Regions from separate parts of the Homo sapiens genome. Here regions 1, 2, 3, 5 and 6 are each linked to region 4. The links are contacts of gene promoters, found by promoter capture Hi-C in human tissues and cell types (Jung and others, 2019). All regions are on one chromosome and are shown on one strand. The core of a region is centred on a gene start or on the middle of the fragment in contact, and the rest is flanking DNA. Distances in the headings are between cores, read along the strand shown.

Evidence for each region. Contacts are between HindIII fragments. The study calls those that stand out against the background at their distance.
Region 1: a fragment that was not itself captured here is called in contact with the fragment with the promoter of CYTH1 in region 4 in 2 of the 25 tissues and cell types used here (dorsolateral prefrontal cortex and mesenchymal stem cells).
Region 2: a contact is called between a fragment that was not itself captured here and the fragment with the promoter of CYTH1 in region 4, in 3 of the 25 tissues and cell types used here (mesendoderm cells, spleen and thymus).
Region 3: a fragment that was not itself captured here is called in contact with the fragment with the promoter of CYTH1 in region 4 in 2 of the 25 tissues and cell types used here (IMR-90 fibroblasts and hippocampus).
Region 5: a fragment that was not itself captured here is called in contact with the fragment with the promoter of CYTH1 in region 4 in 2 of the 25 tissues and cell types used here (dorsolateral prefrontal cortex and thymus).
Region 6: a fragment that was not itself captured here is called in contact with the fragment with the promoter of CYTH1 in region 4 in 1 of the 25 tissues and cell types used here (hippocampus).

What each region holds. Positions count from the first base shown.
Region 1 is chr17:78,470,637-78,475,253 of GRCh38, forward strand. All of the region lies in intron 54 of DNAH17 (dynein axonemal heavy chain 17), which reads right to left. Among named protein-coding and RNA genes, the nearest start is that of DNAH17-AS1, 12 kb to the right of the region's middle. RefSeq lists enhancers at 2,075-2,164, 4,307-4,356. The HindIII fragment of the contact is 9,669 bases long and covers 1-4,617 here.
Region 2 is chr17:78,446,008-78,450,237 of GRCh38, forward strand. DNAH17 (dynein axonemal heavy chain 17) reads right to left here. Exons shown (of 81, transcript NM_173628.4): 69 at 3,407-3,577. Among named protein-coding and RNA genes, the nearest start is that of DNAH17-AS1, 37 kb to the right of the region's middle. RefSeq lists a silencer at 4,100-4,230. The HindIII fragment of the contact is 9,864 bases long and covers 1-4,230 here.
Region 3 is chr17:78,309,509-78,314,160 of GRCh38, forward strand. No RefSeq gene overlaps it. Among named protein-coding and RNA genes, the nearest start is that of LINC01993, 33 kb to the left of the region's middle. RefSeq lists a silencer at 4,490-4,652. The HindIII fragment of the contact is 4,231 bases long and covers 1,117-4,652 here.
Region 4 is chr17:78,780,050-78,784,313 of GRCh38, forward strand. It overlaps CYTH1 (cytohesin 1), which reads right to left and starts at 2,224. Exons shown (of 14, transcript NM_004762.6): 1 at 2,153-2,224. The coding sequence starts at 2,174. RefSeq lists an enhancer at 226-325 and silencers at 1,344-1,743, 2,004-2,283, 2,324-2,483. The HindIII fragment of the contact is 23,878 bases long and covers 1-4,264 here.
Region 5 is chr17:78,293,879-78,298,332 of GRCh38, forward strand. No RefSeq gene overlaps it. Among named protein-coding and RNA genes, the nearest start is that of LINC01993, 18 kb to the left of the region's middle. The HindIII fragment of the contact is 9,751 bases long and covers 1-4,454 here.
Region 6 is chr17:78,335,752-78,340,349 of GRCh38, forward strand. The region is part of intron 1 of LOC105371912 (a long non-coding RNA gene); the gene reads left to right. Among named protein-coding and RNA genes, the nearest start is that of SOCS3, 22 kb to the right of the region's middle. RefSeq lists a silencer at 3,232-3,341. The HindIII fragment of the contact is 9,275 bases long and covers 1-4,598 here.

The DNA of each region.
Region 1 (4,617 bases), core at 2,118-4,617, 310 kb before region 4:
CGATATTGTGCCATTGCACTCCAGTCTGGGCAACAGAGTGAGACTCCGTCTCAAAGAAAAGAAATAAGTAACAGTGAAAATGGTCAATTTTATACTATGTATATTTTACCACATATGCAAAAGGAAAGAAAAAAATCTTAAATGGAGACCCTAAAAGAGGCCCTGAATAAATATACTGCAGGCTTGGACTGGGAGCCTTAACAGGCAACCCCCTTTCAGAGTCATCCACAGCAGGATTTAAGGACAGGGCGAGAAGATGGTTTCATAGGAATTTTGCAAGAATAAATGAAAAGTTTTTTTTAAAGCATTTTACAGAGCAGTAGGAATAGCTCGTTATTTTTGAATATGCCATTTCCATGTATATATATGTTCAGAAATGCCTGCCAGTTTCATCCAAGTAGTGATGTGTATTTCCAGCGTTTTGGCGATTTGCTTATCTATAATATTTAATTTAAAAAACAAGACCTATGGGCTTCTGTACTTATTGAAGAGGCTTTAAAAGTGTCCATATAGGCACCCCAGTGGCTGCTCCATCCTTCGGAAGCAAGTCCGACTCCCTGAAATCTCTCTGTTCAGAGAAACCTCACCAGGCCTCCTCTTTGGGAGCTGACTGGGGTCAGAAGCCAGCCTCAAATCTCCTATCTCTTGACAAGCTAAGAAAAAGCAAGGGGAAGCTCTGAGCCTGGAAAAGCAGGTGGGCAGCAGGTGGGCCGCAGGTGGGACTTGAGCCAAGGCTATGTCCTTGGACCCTGCCTCGAGGTAAGGAGCGTAGTGTGAGAGCCAGCAATGACCTTGAGTCAAAGACGAATCACTCTTCTCATTTCACAGTGTAGCAAGGACATTGGGTGGAGACTGACCATACCAGAAATCTTTTCCTTTTTTGTTCCTTTTTCTGACTTTACTTTTTTAGAGATAGGGCCTCACTCTGTCGCCCAGGCTGGAGAGCAGTGGCATGATCATAGCTTATTGCAGCCTCGACCTCCTGGGCTCAAGGGATCCTCCTTGCCTTGGCCTCTCAAAGTGCTAGGATTACAGGCTTGAGCCACCGCTCCCGGCCCGTCTGGCTTTCACAGCCACACTGTCCCATATGGAGTGGCCCTTACCCTGCCCACTGTGACCGCTGGGCTGTCCCCACCTCACCTTCCCCGCTCACTCTCTGGCACAGTCCCCTCCACTCCCGTCCTCTTATGCTGCTGAGGCTGGCCCCCACATCTCTACCCGCATCCTATCCCTGCACTTCCCAGCCCCATGTGTCCCGCTGTGCGATGGCCGCCTCATCCCCAGGTATCTCATCTCCTCCGGGCCTGGCCCCAGGGCAGTTCTCCCCCACCCTCCCTCCTATCTTGGTTGAGAGCCCCATGGTGCTACTGAAGCTGGATCTGCCTGCGTCCCTATCATCACTGTCAGCCAAGGACGGCAATCGTCACCTGTATCTAGGCCCGTCTAGGGACCAGCCATTAATAAGGGGCACAGGCTTCCCTTTCTTTGGCCAAAACATCAGCAGCAGTGCCTTTCCTTGCCATAGCCAATGCCACTGGCAGTAGACAGGCAGGACACGGAGCCGAGATTTGGGAGTGGGGGTGTGTGAGACATTAGGGTTATGGAGTAGGGGTGCGAGGGTTAGGGTTAGGGAGTAGGGGTGCGAGGGTTAGGGTTAGGGAGTGGGGGTGCGAGGGTTAGGGTTAGGGAATGGGGGTGCGAGGATTAGGGTTAGGATTTGGGAGTGGCGGGTGCGAGACACGCAGCAAGGCCTCCTCCCTGAGAATAACATGAGGCCAAGCCCCCACCCCACCCGATGGCTGCTTCTCACCCCTTCCCTCTCATTTGCAGGAAGCTGGCGGGGAGGCGGGGACCTGAGCCGCTGAGACCACGGCCCCTCATTCTGCTGACAGGCTTTCTTCATGGGGCAGCCCAGCTCTGGCTGCTGACTCAGGCTGGGGTGAAGGTTTCACAGAAATAAAAACTCCCCACCGCCTGGCCCCGGGGGCTGTGTGTGGGGTGTGGGGAGGGGAGCTGGGGTAGCACCTGAAGGTTTCGGATCCTGGACCCCAGCCGAGTCCCCGAGGTCACGCACGCTGTCTCGGCAGGCACAGCCCTCGCTGGCCCTGGTTTCCCCTCCCCCTCCGTTCTCCCTTCTCGTCGCACCTGCCCACTTTCAGCCTTTGTGGGGTCACAGAGCTTGTGCCCCAGCTCCACCCAGGTCACCCTTCAGCAGTTTCTGTGCTTTCAAACTATCCTTCCTGTGTCCTAGAACACTACCACATCCTGCCCGCTCTATCCCCTGATCAGACATCTTGATGTAGTCTCGTTTTCTTGGGACCAAGCCCAGGGCTTTTCACACGGCACACTGTCCTCCAGGGTCCACCCTCCACCCCTTTCCTGTGCACCCCTAGCCTCCAGCAGGTGCCACAGCTTCCGGGACCTACTTTATAATATTACATAATCACAAACATATATGTTACCCCCATAGGGGTGAGCCTATTACTATGGCAGCACCATTAGAACGATAATCATGTCGAATGGCTCAGGAGTCTAGCTCCCCCAATACAATTCAGGAACTTATAGCCCTGTTTACCTCTGCCCTTAGTTCTGAATCCACAGAAGCGGCTTAAGAAATGACAGTGATGGCCGGGCGCAGTGGCTCACGCCTGTAATCCCAGCACTCTGGGAGGCTGAGGCGGGCAGATCACGAGGTCAGGAGATTGAGACCATCCAGGCTAACACGGTGAAACCCCGTCTCTACTAAAAATACAAAAAATTAGACGGGCGTGGTGGCGGGCGCGTGTAGTCCCAGCTACTCAGGAGGCTGAGGCAGGAGAATGGTGTGAACCCGGGAAGCGGAGCTTGCAGTGAGCTGAGATCGCGCCACTGCACTCCAGCCTGGGCGACAGAGTGAGACTCTGTCTCAAAAAAAAAAAAAAAAAAAAAAGAAATGACAGTGATAGCAAAGCTGATTTGTGATGGGTGCAGGGACAGTGAAATTCCACAGCCCAGATCACAGAGCCACAGCAGCTGATGAATAAAATAGTACCGCTGAGGCTGAGGCTGAGGCTGAGCACCCACAATCAGCCCCAACAGGAAGGATCAGGGAGAAAATCCCCGCAGGGACGCAGAGCAAGGAAACGATGCCGTCATGAACGTAAACCAACGTGATTTAGTTAATAGACTAGAGACTTCAATGGAGAAAGCTCAGTAAAACCATACGGCTCCAGGTTCAAATGACACTTGAGTGGCCGCAGATACCAATGTGAACTAACTCCATCAGATGCGCTGAGAACCCATGACACACTACCGCTCATGGGTCCAGAGGACAGGGCTGTGTTCAGGAGTGCCCATCTGAGGAGTTCAAAAAAGAGCAGGCCGGCCCCTTTATACATGGAGTAGAATCTGCTGGGAAGGCAGAGAACAGCCAGCCAGAAACTGGAGGCTCTCCCAGAGGTTGGCCGTCCCTGGCACAGCCTGCACTGCCCCTCCAGGGTCTCTGCCTGCAGACACCTCCCACTGCTCCCAGCATCACTGGCTCCAGGTCTGCCTGCTAAAGCCACCAGCCCAGCGACTGTCTGAGGGCCACGTACTGCGGGAGGGTCCCCTTAGGTTCCCCCTTGGGTCTGGCATCGTCCTGGCCCCACAACAGCGGCCCCAGCACACAGAGAAGGCATGGCCGTGTAGGACGGCCCAATCGATTTCAGGTCTAATCTCAAGCACGATGATTCCTTCTGAACTAATGGCACGCAGTTGCCTGGGAGAGCAGATTTTCAGGAACAAGAAATCAATAAAAACCCTCAGCAGTGTGTGTTGGGCATGGGAGACCTTATGTTTAGTCTAATGTTTATTTCATTCATTCCAAAAGCAGCCATTCAGCATCTCAGGCATGCAGTTAGACACCCAGTCATGGCTCTGAATTCTGTAGTCTGGAGAGAATAGGTAACAATTTGGAACACTCAGTGACCAAGGGCAGGGATCCAACCTCTCTGCCTCTGTGATCTGGGTTGATTCTGTGGACTTGTGTCCATCGAGTAGTTGACAGACACACTCTTCACCTCAGTCACACGGACACGCACACTGGCTGGAAGGTTTCACACCCTTCACCTCAGTCACACTGGCCAGATTTCACACCCTTTACCTCAGTCACGCGGGCTGGAGGGTTTCACACTCTTCACCTCAGTCACCCGGGCACACACACTGGCCGGAAGGTTTCACTCTCTTCACCTCAGTCATGCGGGCCGGAAGATTTCACACCCTTCACCTCAGTCACATGGGCCGGGAGGTTTCACACGCTTCACCTCAGTCACACGGGCCGAAAGGTTTCAGACCCTTCACCTCAGTCACATGGGCTGGAAGGTTTCACACGCTTCACCTCAGTCACATGGACATGCACACTGGCTGGAAGGTTTCAGACCCTTCACCTCAGTCACACGGGCTGGAAGGTTTCACACTCTTCACCTCAGTCACACGGGCACGCACGCTGGCTGGAAGGTTTTCTGGCCTCTGCTTTCTAAGATAAAGACCCTTTGGATAAGGACTATTGGTGATGCTCGGATTCCCTGTACTCGCTGGCTTCATTTTGGAAAAGGGAGTGAAGTTTTTCTTTACTCCCTGACCCTACCCTGAAAGGCA
Region 2 (4,230 bases), core at 721-3,220, 330 kb before region 4:
CTAAAAATACAAAAAAATTAGCCGGGCGTGGTGGTGCATGCCTGTAGTCCTAGCTACTCGGGATGCTGAGGCAGGAGAATCACTTGAACCTGGGAGGCAGAGGTTACAGTAAGCCGAGATTACGCCACTGCGCTCTAGCCTGGGCAACAGAGTGAGACTCTGTCTCAAAAAAAAAAAAAAAAAAAAAAAAATTGACAATTGTAACCATATTTTAGTGTGCAATTCAGTGGCATTTCACATGATTCGCAGCATCGTGCAACCATCAGCACTCTCTAGTTCCAGGACTTTTTTGTTACCCCCTCGCCCCTGAAGCAGCCACTCCCCATCGCCCCTTGCCTCTGAGAGCTGCTCATCTGCCTTCTGCCTAGGGATGCCCCTGTTGTGGATGCTTTGTATAAATGGAAGCACACGACATGCCCCGTTTGCATCTGGCATCTTTCACTTAGCGTGATGCTTCTGAGGTTCATCCATATTGTAGATGTGTCAGAACCTCCTTCCTCTGTAAGGCCGAGTAATACTCCATTCTTGAATATAACCACGCTGGCATTCTCCATTCACCTGCTGATGGACAGCGGGTCGTTTTGGCTGTTGTGAATTGATTAGCTTTGCTGATTTTTTAAATTTATTTTATTATTTATTATTATTTATTTTTTTGAGACAGAGTCTCACTCTGTCACCCAGGCTGGAGCGCAGTAGCGCAATCTCGGCTCACTGCAACTTCCACCTCCTGGGTTCAAGCAATCCTCCTGCCTCAGCCTCCCAAGTAGCTGGAATTACAGGTGTGTGCCACCATGCCCGGCTAATTTTTGCATTTTTTGTAGAGACAGGGTTTCACCGTGTTGGCCAGGCTGGTCTTGAACTACTGGCCTCAAGTGATCTGCCCACCTTGGCCTCCCAACGTACCAGGATTACAGGTGAGAGCCACTGTGCCCGGCCTTGTTGTCTTTGAGAGACAGGGTGTTGCTCTGTTGCCCCGGCTGGAGTGTAGTGCTGTGATCATGGCTCACTGCAGCCTTGAACTCTTGGGCTCAAGTGACCCGCCTATCTCAGCCTCCCAAGTAACTGGGACTACAGGTGTACATCACCTCACCTAGCTATTTTTTTGTGGAGATGGGGTCTTGCTATATTGACTGGGCTAGTCTCAAACCGCCTCAAGTGATCCTCTTGCTTTGACCTCCCAAAGTGTTGGGATACTAGGCATGAGCCTCAGTGCCCGGCCTCATCTGGCTTTTGGCTGCTGCGATTAATGCTGTTGTGAATGCTGATGTACAGGAATGTGGACAGATGCTGGACACCTGTTTACAGGTCTTGTGGGTGTGTGCCCAGAAGTGGAAGCCTGGGTCATATTCCATGCCATCTTGTCGCTTGTGCATGCCGGCCCTCTGGACCTCCTGTGGGCAGGGTCTGGGTCATTTTGAAGTGGTGTATTGGGCAGCTAACCTGGCACCCTCTGTCTCAGATGGGCAGCAGGTGGCTGGGAGCAGGGGCAATGGCCACTGCCATCTCCTCAGTCAAGTGCCCAAACGGTCTGTTTTTCAGATCCCATAGAGAGTTTCTTCCTGAGCTGGACTCTTTCTTTTGGTCAAACAAAACGTTCTTTGGGACCAAAGAGAATGCTTTCTACCCTGGAAAATTAGGGGGAGCACTGAGGAACTCTTATCCTGATGACCTCTCAGCCAGGAGAAAATCTCATAGTGAACCTATGATTCAGAGATTCACATGTAAAAGGAACCTTCATAATATGGACCCCATTGGTTCAAAGTTTGAGTTTGAATTGAAAGCCAGGCTTACACTGATGCCCAACCTGTTTATACAATTAGTGTTGCCCAGCCTGGGCAATGTAGCAAGACCCTGTTTCTTTAAAAACATTTTAAAAAATTAGGGCCGGGTGCGGTGGCTCATGCCTGTAATCCCAGCACTTTGGGAGGCCGAGGCTAGTGGATCACCTAAGATCGGGAGTTCGAGACCAGCCTGACCAACATGGAGAAACCCCGTCTCAACTAAAAATACAAAAATTAGCCAGGCATGGTGGTGCATGCCTGTAATCCCAGCTACTCGGAAGACTGAGGTAGGGGAACTGCTTGAACCCGGGAGGTGGAGGTTGTGGTGGGCTGAGATTGCACCATTGCACCCCAGCCCGGGCAACAAGAGGAAAACTCCGTCTAAAAAACAAACAAACAAAAAAACCAGAACAGAAAAAAAAAAAAATTAGCTAGGCACAGCAGTGTACACTTGTATTCCCAGCTACAGGGAGGTTGAGGCAGAAGGATCACTTGAGCCCAGGAGTTCAAGACCGGCCTGGGCAACAGAGCGAGACTTTGTCTCTACTAAAAAATAAATAAATAAATAAAAAATTAAAAAACTGAAGAATTAGCCTAGCATGGTGGCACATGCCTGTAGTCCCAGCTACTGAGGCGGCTGAAGTGGGAGGATTGCTTGAGTCCAGGAATTCAAGGCTACAGTGAACTATGATTGCACCACTGCACTCTAGCCTGGGTGACAGAGTGAGATTGTCTCAAAATAGCAGCAGTAGCAACAACAACAAAAACTAGTGTTTCCAACCATACTTATGGCACAGTGTAAAGGAAATTGCAGAGGGGCTGTACTATGGTTTGAATGTGTTCCCCAAAAAGCATATGTTGGAAACTGAATCCTCAGTGCAACAGTGTTGGGAGGTGGGGTCTGAGAGGCAGTTGGGCCGTGACAGCAGAGTGAATGGCTTAATGTCATGATCAAGGGAGTGGGTTTGTTACACAAGGAGTTTGGCCCGTTTTGTGCTCTCTCTCGCCCTCTAGCCTTCCACCATGGGATGACACAGCAAGAAGGCCCTTGCCAGATGCCAGCACTTTCATATGGAACTTCCCAGACCCCAGGACCATGAGAAATAAATTTCTATTGTTTATAGATTACTCAGCCTTGGGTATTCTGTTATAGCCGCACAAAACAAATTAAGACAGGCTGTTTAATCAATTTCAGAGAATGCAGATCTTTAAATATTTTAGCAGGGCTGTATAAACAGGAGGAATATTTGTTTATTCATACACTTATTTCTTAAGAAACATCAGTCACCCCACAGTGGGCTAAGCACTAATGCAGGACTATTTACTCAGCACAACTTACATGTAAAATGAATTTCCTTGTGAAATTCTCCTTAAAACACCACCCCTTCACTAGCTCCCATTGGAATACTGTGCCAGCTTCCCAAATATCAACTAGGAGAGCCCCAGGCCTGTTCCACGTCAGGCATCTCAGACTTTATAATCACCTGGGTATATTGCTAAAATGCGGGTTTGAAATCACCAGGTTTGGGTGGGGGCCCAACAATCTGCCTTTCCACAAAGCTCCCAGGGGTCAGTGACACCGCTGGTCCACGGACCACACTAGGAACAGTGAGGCTAGACATTACCTGAAACGTAACTTGTGCCAGGAAAATGAGTTTGTCCCTCTCGAAGAGTCCCCGGGCCGTGTACATGTAGACGGAGTAGGTGATCTCGTCCGTCAGGTTGATCACCCGCTGCTTCACCTCGTTGGCAGGGGTGGTCCTCTGGATGGCTTTCTCAAACACCACGTTGAAGGCCTGGGGATCCGCCACCGAGAGCCATGGAGGCGTGCAGAGATGGAGCCCTTCACCACTCCCCGCCACCACTCCCTGCCACCTGTGGTGGCCTCCAGTTTGTTTTGTTTCTTTGAGACAGAGTCTTGCTCTGTCGCCCAGGCTGGAGTGCAGTGGCGTGATCTTGGCTCACTGCACCCTCTGCAGTGAGGGAGGTTGCAGTGTTCAAGCGATTCTCCTGCCTCAGCCTCCCAAGGCGCACACCACCACACCTGGCTAATTTTTTTTTATTTTTAGTACAGACAGGGTTTCACCATGTTGGTCAGGCTGGTCTTGAACTCCTGACCTCAGGTGATCCACCCGCCTCGGCCCCCCATAGTGCTGAGATGACAGGCATGAGCCACCATGCCAGGCCATCCAGTTTGTTTTGATTGGGTTGTGAGTGCCTGGAGGCACCAGGGGAAGAGCAGGGAGGAGGGAGCAGCTCATACCCTCTCCTGGGGAGAATGGGTGTAGGACTGATGGGGGCCCCTGGCTCCCCCTCTTCCAGCTCCATCTGCAGGCTGGACCAGGTCTGCCCTCTGAGGGTGGCCCTGGCACTGCCCGATGGCTGTGTGGGCAACAGGCCTGGCTGTGGAGCCCAGATGCAGCCCCACCTTGAGGGAGGCACCCAGCCC
Region 3 (4,652 bases), core at 1,982-4,481, 470 kb before region 4:
TTACTGAGAAATGTCTGTCTTTGCGATCGGCCGAATAATGGGCCCCCAAAGGTGCCCATGTCCCGATTCCTGGAACCTGTGACTATGTCACCTTATATGGCAAAAGGGACTTTGCAAATGTGATGAAGCTTAGGCTCTTGAGATGGGAGATTATCCTGGATCATCTGGGTGGGCCCTAAATGTAATCACAGGGGTCCTTCTAAGAAGGAGGTCTGAGAGATCCCTGCCTGCTGACTTTGAAGGTGGAGGGAGAGTGTCTTAGCATGAGCTGCCAGAACAAAATTCCACACTGGGGGCTGAAACAACAGACACTTATTTCTCACCATTCTGGAGGCTGGGAAGTTCAAGGTCAAGGTTGTGGCTGACTCAGTTCCCCGTGAAGTTTCTCTTCTTGACTTGCAGAGTTGCCTTCTTTTTATTTTTTTTTTCAATTATTTATTTATTTATTTATTTTTTGAGACAGAGTCTTGCTCTGTTACCCAGGCTGGAATGCAGTGGTGCGATCTTGGCTCACTATAACATTTGCCTTCCTGATTCAAGCGAGTCTCCCGCCTCAGCCTCCCGAGTAGCTGTGATTACAGGCATGCGCCATAACGCCCGGCTAATTTTTGTAGTTTTAGTAGAGACGGAGTTTCACCACGTTGGCCAGGCTGATCTCGAACTCCTGACCTCAAGTGACCCGCCCACCTTGGCCTCCCAAAGTGCTGGGATTATAGGCCTGAGCCACCATGCCCAGCCTTTATTTTTTACTTTTTGAGACAGGGTCTCCTTCTGTTGCTTAGGCTGGAGTGCAGTGGCACAATCACAGCTTACTGCAGCCTCCACCTCCTGGGCTCAAGCAATCCTCTTGCCTCAGCCTCTGAAGTAGCTGGGACCACGGGCACACACCAGCACACCCAGCTAATTTTCTTATTTTTTGTACAGATGAGGGTCTCACTATGGTGCCCAGGTCGTTCTGGCCTCAAGACATCCTCCTGCCTCAGCCTCAAGAATTGCTGGAATTATAAACATGAGCCACTGCACTTGGCTCACAAATCGTTTTTTAAAATGTATGTTTCCAGGCCGGACACAGTGGCTTACGCCTGTAATCCCAGCACTTTAGGAGGCCAGGGTGAGAGGCCGAGGTGGGCGGATCACCTGAGGTCAGCCTGGCCAACGTAGTGAAACCCCATCTCTACTAAAAAAAAAAAAAAAAATGCAAAAATTAGCTGGGCGTGGTGGTGGGCACCTGTCATCCCAGCTACTCGGGAGGCTGAGGTAGGAGAATTGCTTAAACCCAGAGACAGAGGTTGCAGTGAGCCGAGATCGTGCCACACTGCACTCCAGCCTGGGTGACACAAGACTCCATCTCAAAAAAAAAAAAAAAAAAGTACGTTTCCTAGCATATTTTATGGACATGAAAGCAAATGCTTGCATATACATATACACTTTCTTCTTTCTTTCTTTCTTTTTTTTTTTTTTTTTGAGATGGAGTCTCGCTCTGTCGCCCAGGCTAGAGTGCAGTGGTACAATCTCGGCTCACTGCAACTTCCACCTTCTGGGTTCAAGTGATTCTCCTGCCTCAGCCTCCTGAGTGAGTAGGTAGGATTATAGGTGCATACCACCACACCTGGCTAATTTTTATATTTTTTTAGTAGAGATGGGGTTTCACTATGTTGGCCAGGCTGGTCTCAAGCTACTGACCTCAGGTGATCCGCCCACCTCAGCCTCCCAAAGTGCGGGGATTACAGGCATAAGCCACCACGCCCCGCCAAACTTTCTTCTTTCTACCCCCATACAAATCATAGCATGCCATACACACTCTTCCGCACCTTGATTTTTATCCCTTAATATGTATTAGACTGTCAGACTGTCCTCTATCAGCCTTGAAAGGGCTCTCGCTCTCTCCCTTCCAGTGTTCCTTTGGACAGATGCGCCAGCACCTATGTGCCCCATTGCTGCATTTTGCACTGTGTACCTGTCAGGGTTCTGTGCAAGGCGAATCCACCTCAGGTGGTTCAAGCCAAAAGGGATTTTAACATAAGGAATCAGGAATTCATAAAATCATTGGAAAAGATTCATGGGCTTGAGAAAAACAATCACTGGGAGAGATGGAAGGTCAAAGCTTTCTGGGGTAAGGCCACGCCTCCACCACAGTCCCCGATCCTCCCCACTCCCACACCCACAAATCAGGCACTGAGATGGCAGAATGGGAAATGGAGCCACTGCCAACCAGTGCTTCTGCTGGAACCCACTTTCATACCCATGCAGCTGCAGAAAGACAAGAGTCTGTCTTCCTTCCACTTTCCAATCCCACAAGAACGCATTGATTTGCAGAGAGAAAGTCACATCTAGAGAGAACCTGGGAAAGAGTTTCTAGCTTTCCCACTGCTGTGGTCTGAATGTAACCCCCATCATAACTCCATGCAATAGTGTTAAGAGGTGGGTTCTTTGGGAGGTGATTAGGTCAGGAGAGCTTCTCCCTCGTGAATGGGATTAAGACCTTTATAAAAGAGGCTTTGAAGGCTGGACGTGGTGGCTCACGCCTATAATCCCAGCACTTTGGGAGGCTAAGGCTGGCAGATCACCTGAGGTCAGGAGTTCAAGACCAGCCTGGTCAACATGGCGAGACCCGTCTCTATTAAAAATACAAAAAGTTAGCTGGGTGTGGTGGCCCAGGCCTGCAATCTCAGCTACTCGGAAGGCTGAGGCAGGAGAATCACTTGAACCTGAGAGGCAGAGGTTGCAGTGAGCTGAGATGGCGCCACTGCGCTCCAGCCTGGGTGACACAGGGCGAGGCTCTGTCGAAAGAAAGAAAGAGAGAGAGAGAGAGAGAAAGAAAGAAAGAAAGAAAGAAAGGCTTTGTAGAGTGTTCAATTCAGCTCATTTTTTGCCCTTCCATCCCTTCTGCCCTGTAAGGATGCAGTGTTCATTCTCTCCGGAGGGTGCAGCACCAAGTCACCATCTTGGAAGCAGAGAGCAGCCCTCACCAATACCAAACCTGCCAGCACCATGATCTTGGACTTCTCAGCCTCCAGAACTGTGAGAAATACATTTCTGTTCTTTGAAAATTACCCAGTCTAGGTATTTTGCTAAAGCAGCATGAATGGACCAAGACACCAACCATCTAAAAAAAAGATTAAAGGAGCTGATTCCACCAGCCAGCATCTTGCTGATCTTCCACACCATGGCATAAAAAGCAGCAAGAGCTTTCACCTAATGCTATACAACTGTGCCCCAAACACACACACACACACACACACACACACACACCCTCTCCCCAGAATGAAAAACCTGATGTTCTGATCAGTCACTCTCCAGCTGTGGGTGGTGCTCACTCCTCTTCTGGGCAGAAATCCCATGAGATTAATTAAAGTCACCCATCCCCAGGGCCCCCAGAGGCATAAGTATCATTTGCAATATAGATTTTTCCAATAGTGCCCTCTTGGAATTGTGCAGTGTGCAGCCTGGACAACATTATGTGGTGACCCTGGGTCCTATACTTTATGTAGAATAGTAAGGAAAAAAAAAGAGGGAAAAAAGGAAATTAGTTAACATAAACAAAAATGAACAGGATAAAGGGGAAAGGTGTATGGTGGTCCCTCACTCTGCCATAGTTTCTACTGATAACTTCCTCCTTCCACCATCTAGCCATAATCCCTCCCCCTTGGCCAGCACCTCATATGGTCGTGGTTCTACCTGGGGTAACCCCATCTGTATATAATACAGCCGTCCCGCTGCAGGCCAGGTCGTGAACCAAGCTTGCAATAGGAGATACCCGTGACACAGCCCCTGCCCTTGAGAGGAGTCTCAGGCAGTAACAAACACAGGCCACTGGCTGGGCATGGTGGCTCATGCCTGTAATCCCAGCACTTTGGGAGGCCAAGGCGGGCGGATCATTTGAGGTCAGGAGTTCGAGACCAGCCTGGCCAACATGGTGAACCCTCATCTCTACAAAAAATACAAAAATTAGCTAGGTGTGTTGGCGCGCGCCTGTAGTCCCAGCTACTTGGGAGGCTGAGGTGGAAGAATCACTTGAACCCGGGAGGTGGAGGTTGCAGTGAGCCGAGATGGCACCACTGCACTCCAACCTGGGTGACATAGCAAGACTCTGCCAAAAAAAAAAAAAAAAAAAAAAAAAGCTGGGGGAAGGGTGAGCGTAGAAAATAGTTGTAGTTAAGAGACGGGGTTGGCTGGTTCAGCTTCCAAAGTCTAGGATTTGGTATCTGATAGTAAGAGCAGTGGCCAATGCGGGGGTCTCCAGGCAGGGCCCTAAGCACCGCGCCAGGTTAATGCTCCTCGCAGCTCTTGGGCAGGACTGACTGTTGGAGGCTTGTCCAGCAGAGACAGGAATGAGGGGACCGAGGACCCAGGCATGATGGGGCGGGGGCGCGGGGACCTGCAGCCCAGCGGGCTCGGACGACCTCGGACCCCCGCCGCTCCACGGGCAGGAAGGGAGCCCGGAGCGGCGCGGGTGCGCATTGATCGTGGTGCGGATGCAGCCGCTGCGGCGCGGCCCCGGCTTCTCTGCGAGCCCGTGCCCGGGCCGGGCTGTCGGGAACTCGGCCCGGCTCCACTTGCTCGCGCTTACTGGAAACGTGCTCCCGAGCGGCGCAAGGCTCGGCGGCTGGAGCCCGGGGCGGCCCTTGGCCGAGGGCAGGGCCGAGCCAGGT
Region 4 (4,264 bases), core at 974-3,473:
CCACAAAAGCCTGGTAGGCAGGACACTGGGATCTGAGGGAAATTAAATGGCAAGAGGAGGCAGAGAAAAGAGCAGCAGGCAAAACTGCTGTCGGCTTCTCAGCAGTGGGCAGGAGTGAAATCTGGAGGGGCTGAACAATCTTTTGGGGCCAGCCAGTGGGTGATTTTTCTTTTAATCACAAAAGGAGGCTGGGAGCAGTGGCTCATGCCTGTAATCCCAACACTTTGGGAGGCCAAGATAGGAACTGGAGTTCACACCAGCCTAGGCAACATAGGGAGACCTCCCTCTCTACAAAAAGAAATAAAAATAATTAGCAGGGCGTGGTAGCCCAGGCCTGTAGTCCAGGTTACAGGAGGGGCTGAGAAGAGAGGTGAGAGGATTGCTTGAGCCAAGGAAGCAGAGCGTGCAGTGAGCTATGAGAGCGCCCCTGCACTCCAGCCTGCGCAAGAGAGCTAGACCCTGTCTCAAAAACACAACAAAACAAACAACAAAAAAATGCACAAGCTGCTTTTACTTGTTTACTTATAAGGTAACAAGTGGGCTGGGTGTGGTGGCTCAGGCCTGTAATCCCAACACTGTGCGAGGCAGAGGTGGGAGGACTGCTTGGGTCTAGGAGTTCAAGACCAGCCTGGGTAACATGGCAAGACCCCATCTTTTAAAAAAGTAAAAAATTAGGGCTGGGCGCGGTGGCTCATGCCTGTAATCCCAGCACTTTGGGAGGCCGAGGCGGGTGGATCACCTGAGGTCAGAAGTTCAAGACCAGCCTGGCCAACATGGCAAAACCCTGTCTCTACTAAAAATACAACAATTAGACAGGCGTGGTGGCACGCGCCTGTAGTCCCAGCTACTCAGGAGCCTGAGGCAGGAGAATCGCTCAGCTCACCCAGGAGGCCGAGGTTGCAGTGAGCCGAGATGGCGCCACTGCACTACAGCCTGGGCGACAGAGTGAGACTCCGTTTCAAAAATAAAATAAAATAAAATAAAATAATAAAATAAAATAAAATAAAAAATTAGCCGGGCATGGTGGCGTGCGTATGGTTCCAGCCACTCAAGAGGCTGACGTGAGCTACGATCACGCCACTGTGCTCCAGCCTGGGTGACAGAGCGAGATCTCGTCTCTTAAAAAAAAAAAAAAAAGAAAAATGTCCCATTAGTTATTAAACTAGAATTGGGTTCCATTTGGCCACAGAGTTCTGCTTTATTTGTACTTTGCTACCAAACCACAAAAGTTCACCACTTGTTCTATTTGCCATTCTTCCTTTTAATTCCTCATGAACAAACTTAATAAATTAACTACAGCATGTCAAACAACCTTTTGCAACCCTTGCAATTTCAAACTCTTGGAGGGAGGCACCCCTGGCCTGGGCCAGCAGCCTCAACGCGCGGGAGCGAAGGGAGCGGGACAGCGGCTCCGCTTGCCAAGTCCCCAGTCAGGGGAGGAGCGGCGTCCCCACCGCGGTGCCCCTCGGGCTCCACACCCGCGTCTCGGCAGGCGGCGACGCACCGGACCGGCGGCTACCGGGCCCAGACTCCCGCGGGCAGGGCCGTCCCGGAGCCCGCGCCTCGCCGGCGGCGCCGCTCCCCGTTCTCATTTCTGAACAAAGACGTGGACCGGGCACAACTCGCTGACGCCGAGAGCGGCCGGAAACTGCGGGGAACGCGGGCCCGGCCATCCGCGCGTCCGCCCCGAGCCCCGCAGAGGGGCGGCAGGGCCAGCGACCTCCACCCCTCGGCCCCCCGGGACCCGGACTGCGACCCCTGCCCCGGGGACCCCAGCGACCCCAACGACTCTCATCCCTCAGAGCCCCTGAGATCCTGCCCCGCGACCCCAACGACCCTCATTCCTCAGAGCTCGCGGCGACCCCTGGCCCCGCGAGACCGCGAGCCCGGCCTGTGACCCCCGCCCCAGCCACCCACATCCCTCAGCGCCGCCAGCGACCCCGGCCCCGGCGACCCTCATCCCTCAAAACCCCCTGCGACCCCCGCCCCGCGAGGGCCCCGCGCACCGCTCGCCCGCCGGTCGCCCCGGGCTCCGCGTCCCGCACCAGTGTCCCCGGGAAACGCCAGCCGCCGCAAGCGCTGCCGGACGGCCGGGCCCGGAGGGGACTGGGGGACAGCGAGGGGGAAGCGTCCGCCGCCGGGGCGCACTGACCGTAGCTGTCGTCCTCCTCCATGGTGCGGGAGCCGGGCTCCGCGCTCCGGCTCGCCGCTCGCGTCCCGCCGCGCCACCCGCGCCCCCGCTCGCCTCAGCCCGGCTCGGAGCCCCGCCCCCGGCGCCCCGCGCCCCGCGCCCCGCCCGCCCGCGCCTGCGCCTGCGCCCGCCCCCTGCCCCCGGCCCGAGGCCCCGCCCCTCGCCCGAGGCCCCGCCTTCCTCCCGCGCGCGCCGCACCCCGGGTACCCGGCCTCCTCCCGAGGCTCCGGCCTGCGCACGCGCGTCCACCCGAGGCTCCTCCCCTGCCCCCGCCTCTAGACCACGCCCCCGTCCCGAGACACACACACCCCCCCCCCTTCTCCCGGTCCGCCTCCTGGGGCCGAGCAGGTTTCGGTTTCTGAAGGGCGGTGCAAGTCCCCGGGGTGGCGGACTCGACCTGGCCTGCAGCCAGGCTACTGCACGAAAGCCCAAGGTCGTGTCCGGCCACTGAAGGGCAGGGTGGTCCTTGCTGACGCCAACCTGGAAGGTCAGACCCGGCCCCAGCTTGCCAGGGAGGGCCCGGTCCTTGGCGAAAGGCCACAAAAGCTATTTGAAGTCATTTACTCCTGCGTTCAGAACCTTTACATGCTGTATGTCCTAAGTTTACTGCTTCTACTTCTTTTTATTTGTCCTGAGTTTTACCTGGGTCAAGATTGAAAGGAGGGCACTTCAAGTCCCAGCGTTTTGGATTTTATTTATTTATTGGAGACGAGTTTCGCTCTTGTTGCCCAGGCTGGAGTGCAGTGGCCCGATCTCGGCTCACTGAAACCTCCGCCTCCCGGGTTCAAGCGATTGTCCTGCCTCAGCCTCCTGAGTAGCTGTGATTACAGGCATGTGCCACCAGGCCCGACTAATTGTATTTTTAGTAGAGACGGGGTTTCGCCATGTTGGCCAGGCTGGTCTCGAACTCCTGACCTCAAATAATCCGCCTGCCTCGGCCTCCCAAAGTGCTGGGATTACAGGTATGAGCCACCGCGCTCGGCCTTCTCTTTCTTTATGACAGAGGACAATCCCACTGCTGCAGAATGCCAGCACCAGAACCCCCCTTTCCCCCTGCAGTCACTTGTGGCTCCTGCACCCTACACAGAACACTCACTGAGAACTCCACAGAGATCCCTGGACTGCTGGGAATTTTTTGGACCAACCAAAAAACGGGAGTAAAAGCCACAGAACTCTTTCCTTGTGGGCCCACCTGTCCTGAGTTTTACTATTTTTCTTTTTCTTTTATTTATTTATTCATTTTGAGACAGAGTCTCACTCGCTGTGTTGCTCAGGCTAGAGTACGGTGGCACCATCATGACTCCCTGCAACCTCTGCTTCCCAGGCTCAAGCAGTTCTCCCACCTCAGCCTCCTGAGTAGCTGAGACTGCAGGCACCGGCCACCATACCTGGTTAATTTTTGTATTTTTTGTAGAGACGGAGGTTGCTAGGTTGCCCAGGCTGGTCTCGAACTCCTAGGCTCAAGTGATCCTTTCTCTTTGGTCTCCTTCCTTGGCCTCCCAAAGTACTGGAATTACAGGCGTGAGCCACCACGCCTGGCTGGATTCATGATCTTAACCTTCACTGACTTTACCAGATTGTCCAGTTTTACAGGTGACCTTAGAGAGTCACATTTTGGCCCTAACGTGTCCTTGGGCTTCGGCGTGTGAGGTCAGAGACCCAGCTGCATTTTGTTCCTCTTGGCCTAGACTTAGGACACTTTTAGAATTGACCCCACATTGACCTGGCAAATCTTCTCAAACCATCTGTCACATGGGCTAATGGAGCACTGAGCCTCTCCCCCAGTATTTGCCATCCTCTGTTTCACTCCCTACTTCACTTCTAACCCCAGACTCACCAGAAGGTTCAAGGTATCTTCGAGCTGGCTTTCTTCCCTTATCAGTATGCAAGTCCCAGACCACCTCAGCTCTTGCTCAAAGACCAGAACTCCAGAAGAAAAGCGATTCAGATGGCATGTTAATTCTTACTATCAGCACTCTAGACCTCTTAGCTGAACTCACCAACTGAATAGATTTGGAGAGGGAGGGATACTGGTATTACTGCTAATCACAGATTAGCAGAGAACATGACTGT
Region 5 (4,454 bases), core at 1,526-4,025, 490 kb before region 4:
CCAGCTAATTTTTGTATTTTTAGTAGAGATGGGGTTTCACCATGTTGGCCAGGCTGGTCTTGAACCCCTGACCTCCGCTGATCCACCCACCTAGGCCTGCCAATGTGCTGTGATTACGGGCGTGAGCCACTGCACCCGGCCAAGTAGTTCCCTTTCTGTTGCATTGGGACCTAGAGGCACATGGCCTGGGCCTGCCCAAGGGTGTCTTGTGACCATGAGGGAGAGTCTGCAGAGGACAGGGCCCCTCCCCGTGCAGGAGGGCCTGGCTAGTTGAGTGAGTCTCTGATGAGGCAGTGCCTCCGAGGGTCAGTCATGCTCAAACTCAGTGTGCCCCAAGTCCTGACCCCTGGTATTCTGGGCTATCACTGCCCAGGAAAACAGCACTCCAAACCCTGGCCTTCAGGCCTGTTCCTTTATGCTTATCGCTGGAATCCCTGGTCCAGAGGGTCTTCAAATCCACACAAGCCCCTCCTGCTTGGCCCTAACCCGATGGGTTAAGCGTTTCAAGGGAGGGCTTGAGAGGTCCCCAGGACATGCCTGGAGGGCCAATAAATGACCGTGAACGGTGGTGAGTGAGGCAGGTGGAGAGTGTGACCATGAAGAGCAGGGCAGACTCCCCAGAGTACTGTAGGGAGGCAGCTGCAGTCTGGATGAAGAGTACACGCCAAGGCCAATTGTGGTTGCTGGTGGGATGCAGCTGGGAAAGCGAGAGTGAGGACCCCAGACCCTGGCGGCTGCAATGCCTGGGGGCATGTGACATGGTGGTGAAGGGGGAATTGTGTGTTGATCCTACCCTGGCCGCAAGTCCAGGCTCACAGGCCATGGCCACTGACCACAGGAAGAGGCCTCCCTCCTTAAAGTCGGGAGAATATCCCAGAACTAAGGCTAGTCCTGCATCCTGGCCGGGAATCCCAGGCCAACACCCTCCCCGCGATCTTAGGTGCTTAGCAGCCCTGGCTGGTGACCCCTGGGCGGAGAGAGTACGGTAATTTGCAAGAAATCCAAGAAAGCCCTGGTGAGTGGTTGCTTTTCCTATGTTGCAACCATCCGCGAAGTGAATGCTGCTCTGTGTCTCTATTGTTGTTTTGATGGTGTTCGAGATGATGAGGAGAACCTGAGTCACAGCCTTTACGAGTCTGATTTCCTCAATTTACAGGAGCTGCCTACGCGTTCTGGAAGAATTCACATGCTGATTTGTAGGCGGCCTGGCCAGGTGCTTCGGAGACTCCAGCAGCATCGAAGGTGTGATTTTAGATCTGTACTCCCGAGGCTCTTGTGTTATTTAAGAAGGTCAGTGTGAGGCCGGGCGCGGTGGCTCACACCTGTAATCCCAGCACTTTGGGAGGCCGAGGCGGGCGGATCACGAGGTCAGGAGATCGAGACCATCCTGGCTAACACAGTGTAAACCCCGTCTCAACCAAAAATACAAAAAATTAGCCGGCGTGGTGGTGGGCACCTGTAGTCCCAGCTACTCGGGAGGCTGAGGCAAGAGAATGGCGTGAACCCAGGAGGCGGAGGTTGCAGTGAGCCGAGATCACGCCACTGCACTCCAGCCTGGGCAACATAGCAAGACTCCGTCTCAAAAAAAAAGAAAAAAAGGTCAGTGTGGTTAAATGCATAAGAAGTAATCAGTGTGTTAAATGTATGAGTTAATTGAGCATAGCCCAAGTGAAAGTGATTGTGTTTTCATATTAAAATTAGATTTATAAAGAGAATGCTAAAACTTGTTGGATTTTGGAATGCAAGGTCTAAGTAAAGGTAGGTTTTAATATTGACAACTTTTACACTTGATATATTGACTCTTTTTTTTTTTGAGACTAGACTCTGTTGCCCAGGCTGGAGTGCAGTGCTGTAATCATGGCTCACTGCAGCCTCAACCTCCCAGGCTCAAGCAATCCTCCTACCTCAGTCTCTCAAAGTGCTTAGACTACAGGTGCATGCCACCATGCCCGACTAATTTTTTAAAAAAAATTTTTAGCGAGATGACTTAGTGAGAGGTCTCACTAAATTGTCCAGGCTAATCTCAAACTCCTGGGCTCAAGCAATCCTCCCACCTCAGCCTCCCAAGTAGCTGGGACTACAGGCACGCACCACCACACCCAGATAATTTTCAATTCTTTTTTTTGTCGATAGGGTCTTACTATTTTGTCCAGGCTGGTCTCAAACTCCTGGGCTCCAGCAATCCTCCCACCTCGGCCTCCCAAAGTGCTGGGATTACAGGTATGAGCCACCGTGGCCAGCCTTGACTCAATTCAAATTCAAGTCACTAAGTCTTCCTTGGAAAGCACAAAACCTCCCCCAGGCATTAAAATATTCAAGTGACACAGAAAAGGGAGAGGTGAAGAGGAGCTACCACCTGGAGGAGAAGGTGGGCTCTGAGCCGGGCCTGGAGCCAGGCAGGGAGGTCTTCTTAGCACCCAGCAAGCTGCACCACCCAAGCACTGCCCTCTGCCACCCCACCTCTGCTGGCATGGAAACCTCCCTCTGGGGGTCCCTCTGGCTTCTTGGGTGGAGCCTCTTTTTTTGAGACAGTCTCACTCTGTTGCCCAGGCTGGAGTGCAGGGGCACAATCTCGCCTCACCGCAACCTCTGCCTCCCGACTTCAAGCGATTCTCCTGCCTCAGTCTCTTCGCATAGCTGAGATTACAGGCACCTGCCACCACGTCTGGCTAATTTTTGGGTTTCACCATGTTGTCCAGGCAGGTCTCGAACTCTTGATCTCAAGCAATCCACCTGCCTCGGCCTCCCAAAGTGCTGGGATTACAGGCGTGAGCCACCACGCCTGGCCTTGAGTCGAGTCTTGATGTCTCAATCACACTGCCCCAAATCCATACACTTGTTTATTCATTCAGCAAACAATAAAGCACCTGGACACTCCAGGTTCCATGCCAGGAGCTGGAGTTCACAGGAGAGCACAGGCCTCGGCCCTGGGGCTGAGTCTTGCCGCCTTCTTCATGGCTTGTGACTGCTGTGGTCTGAATGCTGGTGTCCCGCAGATTCATGTGTTGGAACTTAATGCCTAATGGGATAGTACTAAGAGGTAGGGCCTTAGGGGGCTGGTTAAGTCATGAGGGCTTCACCCTCACAAATGGGATTCATGCCCTTATAAAAGAGGCTTGAGGGAGCATGTTTCCCCTTCCGCCACATGAGGACACAGCAAGAAGGTGCCGTTTGTAAGGAATGGGTCCTCGCCAGACACCAGATCGGCCAGTGCTTTGATGGTGGACTTCGCAGCCTCCAGCACTGTGAGCAATGAATTTCTGTCGTTAGAAAATTACCCAGTCTAAAGTATTTTGTCAGTCCGGGCGCGCTGCCTCACGCCTGTAATCCTAGCACTTTGGGAGGCCAAGGCGGGTGGATCACCAGGTCAAGAGATTGAGACCATTCTGGCCAACATGGTGAAACCCCGTCTCTACTAAAAATATAAAAATTAGCTGGGCCTGGTGGCACACGCATGTAATCCTAGCTACTCAGGAGGCTGAGGCAGGAGCATCGCTTGCACCTGGGAGGCAGAAGTTGCAGTAAGCCGAGATCACGCCATTGCACTCCAGCCCGGGAGACAAGAGTGAAACACCATCTCTAAATAAATAAATAAGAAAGTATTTTGTCATAGCAGCCTGAGCAGACTAAGCCCCTGGCCCTCACTCAGCCTCTCCTCAGCCTGCCACTCCTGATGGGGACCTACTCTGGCTCTGTCCTCCCCACCCAAACACAGCACCCCCACAAGCAGTGGGGAGAGGTCCCCAGTGGAGCAGGAGTCCTCCTGGACTTTGTACCTGGGGCCACCCCAGCAGTTACCGCTTTAAAAAGACCACAACAAATGCTAAGCTTTGGTGTTCTTTATAGAATTCTTTTTAAAAAACAAAAAAATGATCATCATGTTTTGTTTGTTTTCCATTTAGAAGAGAAACACTTTCTCATTATTTTAAAAATAGAAACATTACAGAATAGGTACTGTGGAAAGTGAAACTGTCCTTTCCCCCGCCAAGCCTCTGTCCCTCTCTTCTTTCTTCCTGGGGGCTCAGCCTGCCAGGGCCACTGAGCTCTACCATACAGGTTATAGCTACCTGTCACTTCTTTTTTTTTTTTTTTTTTTTGGCCCAGGCTGGAGTGCAGTGGCACGATCTCGGCTCACTGCAACCTCCGCCTCCCGGGTTCACGCCATTCTCCTGCCTCAGCCTCCCAAGTAGCTGGGACTACAGGCGCCCGCCACCACGCCTGGCTAATTTTTTGTATTTTTAGGAGAGATGGGGTTTCACTGTGTTAGCCAGGATGGTCTCGATCTCCTGACCTCGTGATCAGCCCGCCTTGGCCTCCCAAAGTGCTGGGATTACAGGCGTGAGCCACCGCGCCCGGCCCTTAATTTTCTTTTTAATGCTTCTCCGTATTTTCTAGCTTTCTACAAAGATTAAGTAATCCATAAATAATTTAAATAAAGTATCATTTAAAAGTCT
Region 6 (4,598 bases), core at 841-3,340, 440 kb before region 4:
CGAACTCCTGACCTCAGGTGATCCACCCGCCTGGGCCTCCCAAAGTGCTGGGATTACAGGCATGAGCCACCATGCCTGGCCTCTTTCTCATAGAAATCTTTTGTGATTGAATTGTCTGAATTGTGGATTTTTTTTGGTCTACCTTACCATTTTCCTTTTTAGAACCTACAGCTTTCTTTTTTTGGCCAGCATTTCTTTTTGGAGAAATTTCCCCTAAAGTATAGGGTACCTATGTGATAATTTCCAGTATCTCTTCCTGAGCTATTATAAACTCACAGGGAATCATCCTGTATGAAGAGTGACCCCACAATGAAATTCCTTTCCTGGGGTTCAAACAATAGACTTAAAAAAAAATTTAAGACACAGGGTCTTAGGTCGGGCATGGTGGCTCACGCCTGTAATCCCAGCTACTAGGGAGGCTGAGGCAGGAGAACCACTTGATGGAGGTTGCAGTGAGTAGAGATGAAGCCACTGCACTCCAGCCTGGGTGACAAAGCCAGACCCCATCTGGCCAGACCGCCATCGGGAGATGGAGGTTGTAGTGAGCCGAGATCCTGCCACTGCACTCCAGCCTGGGCTACAGAGCCAGATCCCATCCCGCCCCACCCCCCCAAAAAAAGAGAGAGAAAGACAGAGAGACAGGGTCTGGCTCTGTCACCCAGGCTACAGTGGATTGACTTGATCGTAGCTCACTCACTGCAGCCTTGAAGTCCTGGGCTCAAGTGATCCTCCTGCCTCGGCCTCCTGAGTACCTGGAACTACAGGCACCAGCCGGTGTGCCCTGCTCAAGCAGTAGACTTTCCCTTGGAATAAAGACCATTATAATCCCCTCCACCAACTCTCGCAAAGCCATAGTTTGCCAGAGCCATTACTGAACTTTTTGACAAGGCAATCAGCTCAAATGCACCCAAACAGGTTCGGGATTCCTGAACTCAGCCCAGGCTTCATTGATGATACCTAACACGCCTGACTCTATAAGCGGCTGACTTTTAAAATAATAACTTTTTTTTTTTTCTTTTTGAGATGGAGTCTCACTCTGTTGCTCAGGCTGGAGCGTAATGGCATGATCTCAGGCTCACTGCAACCTCCTCCTCTTGGGTTCAAGTGATTCTCCTGCTTCAGCCTCCCAAATAGCTGGGATTACAGGCGCCCACCACTATGCACAGCTAATCTTTTGTATAAAATAATGACTTTTAAAATAATCCAATACAATAAGATCTATTAAGCACCTAGTACATAACTATGAACCAGGGATTGGGGAGAGAAAGGAGGAAGGAGATTTGATCTCACCCTCGAAGGGTTTAGAATCTCTCCACTAAGATTTTTAGGAGTTAGAGTTGGAAACTTCACAATCTAAAGTGAAGAAAGACGAACAGGGTAAAACTCAAGACAGTTTTTGTAAAAAGAAATGTAAAACTGTTTGCCTTCCTGTTTCTTCGTCAGGGATAAGTAATTTCCAGTCATCCCATCCATTAAACAAATATGTATTAAGAAAGAAAAACAGTCCAGGAGCCTACTGCGGGCACAACCGGGGTGCACAGAACCCATCTCGGGAGGCTGGCTCTGCCCCTTGAGAAAGTTCAAGATGAAGGGGATGCCAAGGCCAGAGGCAAATGTCCAGCCCTCACTAGCGGGGATCACCTCGAGTTCCACGCGAGGGGCTCAGGGTTGGGTAATCGAGAGTGGAAAGCTCTGGAAAAACCCTAATACCCCTGTTGCAACATTCTAGGAAAATGGTCTGTCTATTGAATAAGAGTGAGTCACCATGGGAAAGTTGGGGCGGTCAACACTACCCCGCACTGCTCATCCCCATTCTTTGGCTCCTAGTGATGCTCCGGTCACCCTCTGGGGGCCATGGGGAGGAGGCAGTGACGCCGTGATCCGGAATTTCAACGAGACATATGCAAATGGCCCAATGGGCTGTGAAGGAAGTTCAGAGACAGGAGGATGAGGCAGCTCAGTGTTTCTAACCCACAAAGCAGAAGTGAGAATGGGTGAGAATTCCCAGTCACCTTCCCCTTCTCCTTTCCCTTCTCACTCTACCCCAACCCTACTCCCTGTGTGGGCCCTCTGCCCCTTCCCTGTTCAGAAATGAGATCACTGGGTGGGTGCAGTGGCTCATGCCTGTAATCCCAGCACTTCAGAAGGCCGAAGCCGGAGGATCACTTAAGGCCAGGAGTTCAAGACCAGCCTGGGCAACATAGTGAGACCCCCGTCTCTGCAAAAAAATTAAAATCAGCCAGGCGTGGTAGTGCACACCTGTGGTTCTAGCTACTTGAGAGGCTGAGGTTGGGGGATCACTTGAACTCAGGAGGTTGAGACTGCAGTGAGCTATGATCACACCATTGCACTCCAGCCTGGGTGACAAAGTGAGACCCTGTCTCTTTTTTGCTTGAGATGGAGTCTTGCTCTGTCGCCCAGGCTGGAGTGCAGTGGCTCAATCTTGGCTCACTGCAACTTCCGCCTCCCGGGTTCAAGCAATTCTCCTGCCTCAGATCTCCCCAGTGGCTGGGACTACAGATGCAAGCCACCACGCCTGGCTAATTTTTGTAATTTTAGTAGAGATGGGGTTTCACCATGTTGGCCAGGCTGGTCTTGAACAGGTGATCCACCTGCCTCAGCCTCCCAAATTCCTGGGATTACAAGCATGAGCCACCATGTCCAGCTGACCCTGTCTCTTAAAAAAGAAATTGAGATCTCTGACTTTTACCCAATTACCCAAGTCTGTCAAAGTACCCATCTGTAAAAGAAACCAGCCTTGTAAGGTTCCTTTCAACTCCAGAATTGAGGAGTGGGTTTGGGGGCAGTCAGAGGGGGGTGCTGGTGAGCAGGTGACAGGAGAAGGAAGAATCTCCAGTTGAGCCCCCACTATGTGTCAGGCCAGGAACCCAGGGACCTCACCAGAGCCCTCTGTAGAGGTCAGCATCCTCGTTTTACAGATGACACAATGACAGCCTAGTCGGAGGATGATGACACCAGGATCTGACCCAGTCTTCCCAGGCTCCCCCCCCCAACTGGAAGCCCCCCAAGATTGAGCAGACATATTCTTTCAGGAAACACCACCACTCTGGTTTATTTCAGCTGCAGGTCTGATCTCCATAACAGAAGCACACCTGAAAAATACTGCCTTAGCCGCTGAATTTTGATAGAGCAATTCTATATTCCTGGTAACTTCCTCTGTAATTAATCGTCAATTGATTACTCCGTCACTTACATGTGAGTGTGAAGGCGCTGGCTTCTTTGTCAGGAAGTGAACTCTCTATTGACGAATGAGTCAAAGCACTGGGCGGCTGTTACTTATTCATGAAGGAGGGCATTGGCGCGTTTAGGTTTCCCCTCACCTGTCCAGCACGCCCTGAAAGATTGTAGTACAGAGTCCTGGGGAGAAAGTGGTTTCCTGCCTCTCCCTGGGCTCATATTTGAATGGTACTTTCTTTCTCTCTCTCTCAGCAGACTAGGCTCCTCTCAGCAGATTTCCATCCCAAGTTTGGGTAGCTCTTGCCAAACCTTTTAACCCGTATTCTACAGCAATAATCCAAGTTATAAATAAAACTATTCAATTCAGCTATCTAGTTAATTAAAGAATTAGTAGCCACTTGTGGATAATATTTATTTTTCTGGGCAGTGAACTGAGTTAGTTGGACTGGGCATGGGGATGAGTTCAATATTTTATTAATTTTCCTTGAGGATAGCTATATATTTAGTACACATGTAATACAATGTATTAGTGTGATAACTTTTTTTTTTTTTTTTTTTGAGATGGAGTCTCACTCTGTCACCCAGGCTGGAGTGCAGTGGCACGATCTCAGCTTACTGCAACCTCTGCCTCCTGGGTTCAAGCAATTCTCATGCCTCAGCCTCCTGAGTAGCTGGGACTACAGGTGGACCCCACCATGCCTGGCTAATTTTTGTATTTTTAGTAGAGATGGGGTTTCACCATGTTGGCCAGACTGGTCTCAAACTCATGGCTTCATGTGATCCTCCCACCTCTGCCTCCCAAAGTGCTGAAATTACAGGCAACAGCCACCTCGCTCAGTCAACTTTCTTTAAAAAGGAAGGATGACTGGGCACAGTGGCTCATGCCTGTAATCACAGCACTTTAGGAGGCTAAGGCGGGAGGATGGCTTGAGCCCAGGAGTTCGAGACCAGTGTAAGCAACATAGGGAGACCCCCCCCCCACCCCCACCGTCTCTACAAAAAAATAGAAAAATTAGCCAGGTGTGGTGGCACATGCCTGTAGTCCCAGCTATTCAGGAGGTTGCGGCAGGAGGATCCATTGAGCCTAGGGGGCAGGGGCTGCAATGAGCTATGATCATGCCACTGCACTCCAGCCTGGGTGACAGAAGGAGACCCTGCCTCAAAAACAAAAGGAAGCTAAGGGGTGTAAACTGCCTGGGGAAGACTCTCTGGGGTCATAGAGAGTGGGTTTAGGATCTGGGGGACATTCTCTGTGGCCAGTCAGTCAGGGTGCTGGCCTGACTGCTCAACAAGCTTCTTAATGACTCTAAACCTCAGATTCTTCGTTTGAAAACCAGGCAGATGAGCTCAGAGAACTGCTGTGTGGATTCCCCCTCCCAGTTCCAGTGTGGCAGAGTCCT